2 separate regions of the Homo sapiens genome follow, and region 1 is linked to region 2. Evidence: promoter capture Hi-C in 16 types of primary human blood cells and fetal thymus (Javierre and others, 2016). All regions are on one chromosome and are shown on one strand. Each heading gives the region's core, a stretch centred on a gene start or on the middle of the fragment in contact. The rest is flanking DNA. Distances are from core to core; before and after follow the strand shown.

Region 1 (5,337 bases), core at 390-2,889, 350 kb after region 2:
ATGAGCCAGACCTAGCCAAGCCAAATAATGAATTCCTCTGAATACATAATTGGTTCAGGATGGGCACACAACTTGGGATGCATAATGAGACATTATTTTGCAAGCTCTCTTTTTGCTGATGCTGCTGAGCTTGGAAGAGAGAAGCTTCTGGAAACCATCTTTGTCATCTCTTGGCTAAAAGTGAATCCTTCCCAAAAGACAGCATGGAATGAGAAATGAGAGATGAGAAATGAGAGATGAGGAATGGAGAGAGACAGAATCCTGATGATATAACAGAAACCCTGGATCCAGCCATGACTGAATTCCACTACCCTCATTTTTGTTTAAGTTATATGAGCCAATAGATTTTTTTTCTTAATCCAGTTCAAGTTGAGTTTCTGCTAAATTCTACCAAAGGACCTCTAAATAATATATTCAGGGATTAGCAAGAGCAAAGGTATGTGTTGGCAGGCATTCACTTCATGATCATTTTCTCTATGAAGTGGGTGGTGCAGGGTGTGAGGAAACAGATGTGGGCTGTGAGAGGGTGACAGGAACCCATGGCTGTCCAAGTTCCTGTCTAATTGGCTGTCCAAGTGCCAATTAGAAAAACCCAATGGCCAGATGGCAAGATCCAACGCCCTGCCTCCCTGCTTCCTGTCATGGAGAATGACCTGTGCCCAGTGCCAGACCCTGAGTCCCCAGTTCATCCATTTTGCCACAATAGATCCTTGAGAAGCGGATCCTGATGTCTCTTCAATGATGGCCCACAATTCTGACCACTGCACCATAGACAGTGCACTCTTCTTAACATTAACCACAGTGCTGACCTTGAAGCTGATATCAGTGCAACTAGGATGCTGAGTGTGACTTTGACCTTAGTATGACTCAATCATAATTTTGACCATAGCTTGGCCAGGTCATTATCCACAGCAAGCTCAGGACAAGGACCATAGCACTAGGACAGAGCACAGCATAACCAGGAAACTGACTGTAGTACTAATCACCACACTGACCACAACACAACCAAGAATGACCAGGAGTGACCACAATTCTGACCACAATGCTGACCCTGGCAGAACCAGGATGTTGACGGCAGCACAGATCCCGGTTCAACAGGACACAAACCACAATGCCATCAGGACACCCAGAGGGCCACTAACCATACCAGTCAACGACCAACGGCATCGAATGCATTGACTAAGGTCCAGTCAGAAAAACAGCCCATCCCAGCAAATTCAATAGAAAGAATTTAATATGGGGACTTTAATTAGCCACACACTGAGGTATTAGGTAGGTAGGTTTGTTTGTTTGTTTGCTTTTGTGGGGTTTTTTGAGACAGGGTCTCACTCTGTTGCCCAGGCTGGAGTGCAGTGGAGTAATCATAGCTCACTGCAGTCTCGACCTTCTCAGGCTCAGATGATCGTCCCACCTCAGCCTCCTGAGTAGCTGAGACTACAGGTGTGCACCACCATGCCTGGCTCATTTTTGTATTTTTGGTAGAGATGCAGCATCTCTACAGAGATGTTGGCCAGGCTGGTCTTGAACTCCTTGGCTCAAACAATCCACCTGCCTCAGCCTCCCAAAGTGTTGGGATTAGAAGTGTTAGCCATGGCACTCAGCCGATAGGTAGGTTTTGTTTTTGTTTTTTTCTTTTTTGAGACAGAGTTTCACTATTGTTGCCCAGGCTGGAGTGCAATGGCATGATCTCAGCTCACTGCAATCTCTACCTCCTGGGTTCAAGCGATTCTTCTGCCTCAGCCTCCTCAGTAGCTGGCATTACAGACACCTGCTACCATGCCTGGCTAATTTTTTGTATTTTTAGTAGAGACAGCATTTTGCCTTGTTGGGCAGGCTGGTCTCAAACACCTGACCTCAGGTGATCCACCCACTTCAGCCTCCCAAAGTGCTGGGATTACAGGTATGAGCCACCGCACCTGGCCCTATTAGGTTGGTTTTAAGCGCAAACTGGAGCAGGTGAATCAACTCTAGTTGCTAGCTATCATCTTTGCAAGGACTGAAACAACAAAGGGAGGTGGTAGTTACCTGAATCCAGGAGCTGCAGTTACCTGGCCAGTCACCTGCCCCCACCCCCCACCATGGTGGGGAATACCTAATGGGACTGAGACCACAGAGGAGGCACAGCAGCCATGGCTAGAGACACTCAAAGTGGAGGGGGGGAAATTCTCTGGCTTCTCCTTTCTTGGCACCCTCCAATCTGCCTGTAGACCTCCCATTGGCTGAGCCTAACCAGATGCAAAGAAGCCTGGGAAATGTAGTGTGTAGAGAACCTGAGAAAGATAATTTGCAGGAGCCATTGCCCTGATACAGAGGGGAGCAGGGGGAAAGTGGGGAATAGATCTAAGTGCATATCGACCAAATTCCAACCATATAACACAGGCTGTAGCTTAGTTGTAACTGTGATCGTCTTAGTGACCAGAGCCCAAGGAGGACACTGTTCATGGTCCTGAAATGCAGCATTCATGAGTCAAGAGTGCTGACTCTTGACCGTGAGACCCACTCTTGGTCAAGAGCTTGTGGGTCCTACCAACCAATGTCCTCCTTTTATGCAATGCCAACTGCAGGCTTGGCCTGAAGGGCCCACAAAGGACTGTCTCCCATTTGGGAAAAGGAGATAGAAGAATAGGATGGGTGCGGTGGCTCATGCCTGTAATCCCAGCACTTTGGGAGGCTGAGGCAGGTGGATCACCTGAGGTCAAGAGTTCATGACCAGCCTGGCCAATATGGTGAAACCCCATCTCTACTAAAAATATGAAAAATTAGACAGGCCTGGTGGCAGGCACCTGCAATCCCAGCTACTTGGAAGGCCGAGGCGGGAGAATTCCTTGAACCCGGAAGGCAGAGGTTGTAAGCCGAGATCAAGCCACTGCACTCCAGCCTGGGTGTGACAGTGTGAGACTCCATCTCAAAAAAAAAAAAAAAAAAAAGAGATAGAAGAATAAACAGGATGTCTTCGCAGGCTCAGACTCTATTTTGTGTCCACATCCCATGATGAGTGTCCTCAACCCAGTGCATGGTTGGTTATTGCAAGGCGTGCTGGGGAGTGAGTGCTAGCTAGGTGCTCTCTTTGCTTAGAGTCACAGATGTCTCCCAATAACTGCAAAAAACAGGTCTTCTAAGAGGGGGAAAGCTTTTTCCCTAAGGTCACATGGCCAAGAAGTGGCAGCACCAGGGTTGAACCCAGATCTGTGGGTCACCAAGCTCTTTCTCATTGACCTGACAAAACCATCATCGACATGTTTTATCCCCAGTAGGGTTGAGACAGGAATGATCCAGGGTGGTCACAGGCAGCCGTTTCACATGACTAGAGGCTATGGGCTGATAAGATCCTGAAAACCAGGGTGTGGACCAAGCTGGCTAAGACCTACTGGACCCAACATGGCGTTACATTCTACCTAGGTTTCACCTAGGATCTCATTATGTACTCATTAAAATACTAAAATTACCCACCCACCAGCGCCCTTGACAATTCCAGGGACACCCAAATTTGGTGTAAAAGTGGGTGGCACCACAGTCCACCTTTTTCCAGTTTTCATGAATATTCCATCCCTTGGTTAAAGAGATACACAGTGGCCTGTTGTGGTGGCTCACGCCTGTAATCTCAGCACTTTGGGAGGCCAAGGCGGGTGGATCACGAGGTCAGGAGTTTGAGACCAGGCTGGCCAATATGGTGAAACCCTGTCTCTACTAAAAACACAAAAAATTAGCCGGCTGTGATGGCGCACACCTGTAATCCCAGCTACTCAGGAGGCTGAGGCAGGAGAATTGCTTGAACCTGGGAGGCAGAGGTTGCAGTGAGCCGAGATCACACCACTGCACTCCAGCCTGGGTGACAGAGCGAGACTTTGTCTCAAAAAAAAAAAAAAAAAAAAAAAAAAAGAGACACATAAAGGTAGCAGTCCCAAACCACCTTGCCCATCTCTCTCTCTTAAGTACGCCCACTCCCTTTTCTCAAGTGTGGACTTTTCCCTTAACAAAAAAATCTCCGAACTTTTCATGATTTTCTGATTCCTCCTTGAATTCATTCTTGCGATGGTGTTAAGAGCCTGGACACCAGCTGGGGTCGAGGCCCCACCAGCGTCTGGGGAGACCCCTCCTAGCCCAACAGTATCAGGGTCACAAAAATGCCAGGCTTCCTGGCCTCGCATATTTTATGCCCGATTTCTTTCCAATCTGACTTATTTGCCCGCCCCCCTCCTCCACCTCTGCCTACATATATCCGAATCCCTAGAGGGGCTGTGGGGAGGAAAGACGACTAGGGACACTTTTTTTTTTTTTTTTTTTTTGAGACAAGGTTTGCTCCTGTTGCCCAGGCTGGAGTGCAATGGCACGATCTCTGCTCACTGCAACCTCTGCCTCCCGGGTTCAAGCGATTCTCCTGTCTCAGCCTCCCGAGTAGCTGGGATTCCAGGCATGCACCACCACGCCCGGCTAATTTTTGTATGTTTTAGTAGAGGTGGGGTTTTGCCATGTTGGCCAGGCTGGTCTTGAACTCCTGACCTCAGATGATCCACCCTCCTCAGCCTCCCAAATTGCTGGAATTACAGGCGTGAGCCACCGCGCCCGGCCTAGGGAGACTTTTGGAGGAGTGAGAGGCAGAGAAAGGCTGGAAAGCCTCCCGAAAGTGAGGCTAGACAAGGACGCCCTTCATATGCAAATGGCTTCGCGTGGAGGCGGTGTTAATATTTTGATTCTCTCGGGGGATGTGGTCTTTCATCTTGGGCTATTGAAACAGGGAGCGAAGAGAAACTCTTCCAGGTGTGGCGGAGGCGGGGAGGCTTCCAGCGGGAGGACTGGTGGGGAAATGGGGCGCCCGGGGAGAGTGAAAACGAGACGCCCCTTTTTGAGGCCAAGCCCACCCACGTGGCCATTTCCATTGGCCTCTTGCCTGATTCTCGGTCTCCTGTCCCCCCAACCTCAATTTTTTCCTCTTATTCCCCGTCTCCATCTATGCCTCACCCCTCTTGTCCTGGCATTGACCCCTCCTCCAACTTCCAATTTCAGATTCTGCCTCAGTTTCCCTGTTGACTCTTGAGTTTTTAGGGAGGGGGCGTTCATCATTTCCCCTCTCTGCTACCAGGCCTTCCTCCTATTCCTCTCCCCCAACCATTCGTCCCCGTCCCACCTGCAACGTGGGAAATGCCCCCGGAGGGTGAAATTTACAAACACGTGACGGGCACCCCTCCCCCACCTCCGCGACCCGCTCCCGGAATGGCCTGGGGGTTGGGGGGCGCTGCCAAGTCCTGTCCTCAGGTCCCCTCGCCGGCGCTGGCTCCCCCACTTCCCCGCCCCCACCCCCCCACCCGACCCTGCTCGAGCTGCTCCCGAAGAGGAGCT
Region 2 (5,247 bases), core at 35-2,534:
TGGGCTCAAGCGATTCTCCTGCCTCGGCCTCCCAAAGTGCTGGGATTACAGGCGTCAGCCACCATGTATGGCCATTTCCCCAGATTGTTTCATATTCCTCTTTTTCTCGCTCAGCCGGCATAGAACATCCCCCTTTACGCCTGGGACTTCATAGCTAGGCACTTGCATAGGTACGCAGCGCCCACAGTGAGGAGGATCCCTACAAGGGCAGCGATGGAACCGGAGGCCAAAGCTGTGGGCGCGGGGCTCCAAGCTGGGAGCAGAAGGCGAGAATTAGGAACGGAACACAGGGAGGTCTGTCGACCCGCGTGGAGCTCACGCTTGGTCTGTGCGCCCTCTCGGGGTCATAACTCTCTCTGCCCCCTTCCTCCTAGTCCCCAGGGTTACAGGGGTGCCTCACCGAGCATCAGTGTAATGGGTGCCGAGCTGTTGCGGACCACCAGGCCGTCGAGATTGAGGCGCGCGTGGCAGATCACGGGCTGCCAGAAGTCGCGGGGTCCAGCAGCAAACTCGTAGGTCAAGGTCACGTTGGCCAGATCCAGGCCGGTGAAGCGCTCCAGGCTTTCGGAATAGATGACCCGGCTTCCATGCCTCAGGGTCACCACCAAGTAGCCCACCGGGAACACCTGCGTCACGTGGCAGCGCAAAGTGTATTTCCTGCCCTTTAAGACCGGAGGCTCCAAAATCACGCTGTGGGGCGGTTCTAAGGCAAGGGGGAGCCTCTGAGTGAGGTCCGCGGGCGCTCCCTATAGAGCGACTGTCAACTACCCTTCCCCCACCTCTTCCAGCCCCCTCCCCTCACCCCAGCCGGGACCGAGCCCCTGTCCCTCACTGTAGGCGGTGATCCTGGAGGTGGCCCAGCGTGTTTTTCCTGCGCAGGTCACGAGGCAGTGCGCGAGGGAGCTCCAGGCCCTCACGTCGAGCAGCTGGTAAGACACCCAACCCGGCCCTCTGAGCGTCTTGCCTTGCCGCAGCGGGGTGCGGAGGCTGGAATTCTGCGGCTGGGGACAGCTGTTGCTGCAATTGAGCTGCACTGACTTCCCCGGCTGCACAGCCACGAACTCCGGGCTCATGCGCACCCAGAAGGGCACTGAGGTCCCGGAGGGCGCGAGAGGGCTACCCTTGGGGCTTTGCGCCCGCTTAGTCCGGCGTCCCAGCGCGCTCCCAACTCCCGGGTAGGCGGCCGCCAAAAAAAACAGCAGCGACAGAGGGAACAGAGACCCCATGGCAAAAAGCCCGGACTAAGGGGCCCCGCGCCAGAGAGCCAGGGCCGGCTCTAGAGATAAGGAGGCCCGCAGCCCCGCCTCCTCGACTCCACCCTGGAGAGGAAGGGGAGGCCCCAACAGAGGGCCCGGGAGTACTGCAAAAAGGGATTCCGCTCCCCAGGTCAAGAATAAGATTCCAGGCCTCATTAGAAACCAAATGTTTTTTTCTGGAGAGGAGTCTTTAGTTTTCACTAGAGACCCAGAAGGTCATAGAAAGTCCGATTTGGACCAGAACCTCAGGGTATGGCCATCAACCCACAATGTTTTCTTGGGGGAGGAAGTGGGAGGATCAGGCTGTGGCTGCTTAGAAAGGACTCCAGCTGGATGTGACACCTCCCCTCAACTCACACAAGGCTGAGGCAGTTGAGAAAGCTTTATTAACTAACACAAAGGAAGTCTGGGCAATGTTGCGAGACCCCGTCTCTGGAAAAAAAAAAAAAATCAAATTTGCCAGGTGTGGTGTTGTGAGCCTATGGTCCCAGCTACTCAGGAGGCTGAGGTGGGAGGATCACTTGAGCCCAAAAGGTCAAGACTGCAGTGAACCATGATTGCACCACTGCACTCCAGCCTGGGTGACAGAGCGAGAGCTTGTCTACACATACACACACACACACACGCGGATGAGGCTTCCAAAGCTGGGAGGGAGTCCTCCAATACCTTGGCCCCCTTCCCCACTGCTTGCAGGACCCTGATCACTGCAGGAAACTGGAGCTGCATAGTGCAAGCTCCCAGTGAAATGCAAACAGGACAAGAGGACAAGGCATAGCTTGGGCATATTCCCTGGGCACTCATGTCCAGACATGACCGCTGAGTGTCATTGTGAACACTGGCAGAAATGTATGTGGGTGGGGAGGTGGCTAACAAAGGTGTCAGTTTTGGGGGGAAGGGAGGAATAAGGCCTCACTGGGTAATCTCTGAACCTGTAACCATTACCAGTCCATATAGTGCTTTTGTGCCGATAGAAAAATCACTCCTTCTGGGGAAAGGCAGGTTGGCCAATGAGAAGTCCCAGCCCCATTTGATCTTTTTGCCAGGCACTCTCCTGCAGTGTACAACCTGTACAACTGTACCTGGTGACCTTGAATGTGATTAGGACTGGGAGCTCCGTGAGGCCAGAGACCTATGTTCATTTAGCCTACATAAAAGACACTCAATAAATAGCTGGTAAAATAACAAATGAATAAATACATATCATCAAGGGTTGGGGTCAGTAGACAGCAGTGCCCAAGCTGGCATCCGTCAGGAAGTGTGGGCCTTTGTGTTTTGATGCTACACATGTCTATGGAGGGCCACTTCTTCTGTAAGTCTGTGGGGCCTCAGCATACCCAATAGGCAGCAAGTTTCAGTATTTCCCAGTTGTATGTCCTCATGGTGGGGCTATGTCTCCCCCACCACTTCCCCTCTCATCAGGCTAGACTTTAACATCCATCAATCATGTCTTGAGTCTTGCTCCTTCCTCTTGGCTTAGTCATGTGACTACAGATCAGATGCGTGGCCTAGTGTTTTAGGTGTGCAGGTACCATGGCCCCAAATGCTGTTGTATCTGACTGAGGACAATGCCCTGTCCTCCGGCGTCCCAGGGCCGGTAGGTGTAGCTGCATGGCATATGTCTTCCACTCTGTTCAGTGTGGCACCACTGCCACCAATATGGGAAGGCCGAGGAAGAGGCCCTGTCCCGGGATAGGTTCAGGGAGGCGTGGCTTGTGTGTTCGGTTTCATGGGGGTCCCTTTTTGGGCCTGTTGTAGTCTGTATTTCTTGATCTTCCGCTGGCGGTTATAGAGGTACGTGCTGAGGCCTGCAGTGCCCATTATGACTGCGGCTGCTACCACAGTGATGATGACAATCTCATACCGGGGGGCTGTGGGGAGGATACAACAGGCGGTGAGGATTGCATTAGGTCCATGGCCCCTGCCCCCACCCAGCTCTGCCCGCCGGCTCACTCACAGAGCACATTCACGGTCACCTTGCGGGTGACCTCCCCTTGAGTGCTCCTGGCCCGACAGAGGTAGGTGCCCTCAAGATCTCGAGTGACAGTCACTGATTCCCCGATGGGCAGTGGGAAAGTGCCATCCTTTAGACACTTGAGCTCGGGCAATGGGTTCCCCCAAGCCTGGCACATTGGAGTCTGCTGGGAATTTTCTGGCCACGTCCAGTTTCCCGGACAATCCCTCTCGTCCAGTCGGGGGCCATCTGGAAAAACACGATGAGATGACATGGAGGTGGGTGGGGGCAGGACTTGGAGGCAAGACCTTATGGGACCTTCAGGGAGATTGGGCCTTGGGGGATAGGGGCCATTGACCAGCAGCCCCACTCACACAGGACACGAAGCTCCCGGGTCTGGTTCTTGTGTATAAGCTGGCCGGCCACCTCCAGGGTTGCAGAGCAGGAGAAGCTGCGCCCGTTGTCCTCTGGGGTGGCCTTCAGCAGGAGCTGGGCCCTCGGGCCCAGTGGCTGGGCTGGAACCCCATTCAGCGTCACCTTGGCTCTAGGGTGGGCCTCACACTTCACTGTCACCTCGGTCCCTTCTGAGACCTCTGGCTTCGTCAGAATCACGTTGGGCGCCGGAAAGCCTGGAATAGGCACACAGTGAGCCCCGCCCCGGGTTCAGGTCACACCCCCAAGAAGCCCCACTCCGCCCCTGCCCCTTCTTACTGTAGATGGTCACTGTCTGCAGTGTCTCCTGGCTCTGGTTCCCCAGTATTACTGCACACGTCAGCCGCTGGGTGCCCTCGTCCTCTGCGGTCACACTGACTGAGGCCTTGGCCGAGAAGGAGTCGTTGCCATAGGTGACTGTGGGGTTCAACCTCTGGTCCCCCAGTGCCAGGTGGACCTGGGCCTCCGAGACTGGGAACAGCCCGTCCAGGGAACAGACCACGGTCCCCTGCGTGTCCACCTCTAGGACCCGGGGGCTGACAAGTTGTGGGGGAGTCGCTGGCAGGACTAGGGAGAGAAGAAAGGTGTGAGCAGACAGGGATGGACGTCCCGAAGCCCTTCTCTGGGGCATTTCATTCCCCCTCCTGCGAGATCCTCTTCCAGGGCCACTCAGCAGCCTAGGTCACATACGCCTAGAACACATGCACCCCTTAGCCGGGGCCACACCCATCTCAAAAGATCCTGTGGCCACAGGCACCGCATTGCAGGATACCCCACCCCCACCTTCTCCCTGCTGGCTTCTTCAATCCTCACCAAAGGTCTGGAGCTGGTAGGGGGCCGAGGTGTTCTCAAACAGCTCCAGCCCTTGGGGCCGCAGGTCCAGTTCAGTGCGGCACGAGAAATTGGCTCCATGGTGATCTCTCCTCACCAGCACCGTGGTCGTGACCTCAGCGGGCTCCCCCACAGCTGGCTCCCGTTTCAGCTCCTTCTCCCCACGGAGCAGCACCACGGTGAGGTTGGCCCGGGGTGCCCCACCCTCCACCTGGCAGCGTAGGGTAAGGTTCTTGCCCACTGGCTGCCAAGAGGGGAGGGGTGCCAGTTCCACCCGTTCTGGAGTCCCTGCAGGAAAACAGAGGTGGGGGTGTCTGGTGAAGTGGACCTTGCTGCCTGCCTAACAGACGAACTGCACCTGCCTGGGAGCCCTACCTCTTCAGTATCTCCCCCAAACACGCCCAGACACCTAAGCAGATAGGAATGTCAAGATCTTCAGTGAAAACTGGTAAGAGGGCCCCGAGTGTTTGTGAAGGGGATCAAAATATTCCTTATTCATGACAGCAGCATCTTAGAGTGAAAAGTGGAAAAGAACTTCAAAGTCTATTGCTAGGTGTCTGGTCAAATAAATTCAGCAGCCCAGTGCACTAGACTGGGCAAACAGTGGCTCGATCTTGGCTCACTGCAACCTCTGCCTCTGGGATTCAGGGGATTCTCCTGCCTCAGCCTCCTGAGTAGCTTAGATTACAGGCACACACCACCACACCAGGTTAATTTTTGTATTTTTATTTTTAATTAATTAATTAATTAAGTTTTTAGACTGAGTCTCCTTCTGTC

Evidence for each region. Contacts are between HindIII fragments. The CHiCAGO score rates a contact against its expected background, and 5 or more counts as called.
Region 1: a fragment that was not itself captured here is called in contact with the fragment with the promoter of ICAM4 in region 2 in 1 of 17 cell types (total B cells); the score reaches 7.0 in total B cells.

Annotation. Positions count from the first base shown.
Region 1 is chr19:9,936,577-9,941,913 of GRCh38, reverse strand. No RefSeq gene overlaps it. Among named protein-coding and RNA genes, the nearest start is that of OLFM2, 2.7 kb to the right of the region's middle. RefSeq lists an enhancer at 4,380-4,882. The HindIII fragment of the contact is 2,986 bases long and covers 147-3,132 here.
Region 2 is chr19:10,282,992-10,288,238 of GRCh38, reverse strand. ICAM4 (intercellular adhesion molecule 4 (Landsteiner-Wiener blood group)) reads right to left here and starts at 1,284. Exons shown (of 3, transcript NM_001544.5): 1 at 833-1,284; 2 at 401-703; 3 at 1-253. The coding sequence starts at 1,226. The coding sequence ends at 135. It overlaps ICAM1 (intercellular adhesion molecule 1), which reads right to left. Exons shown (of 7, transcript NM_000201.3): 3 at 4,453-4,758; 4 at 3,919-4,206; 5 at 3,582-3,836; 6 at 3,211-3,456; 7 at 1,624-3,124. The coding sequence ends at 2,952. It overlaps ICAM4-AS1 (ICAM4 antisense RNA 1), which reads left to right. Exons shown (of 1, transcript NR_186335.1): 1 at 1-2,438. LIMASI (lncRNA inflammatory and mucous response associated, antisense to ICAM1) reads left to right here and starts at 4,789. Exons shown (of 4, transcript XR_007067138.1): 1 at 4,789-4,918. RefSeq lists enhancers at 1,157-1,296, 643-1,612, 1,667-1,716. The HindIII fragment of the contact is 2,558 bases long and covers 1-1,639 here.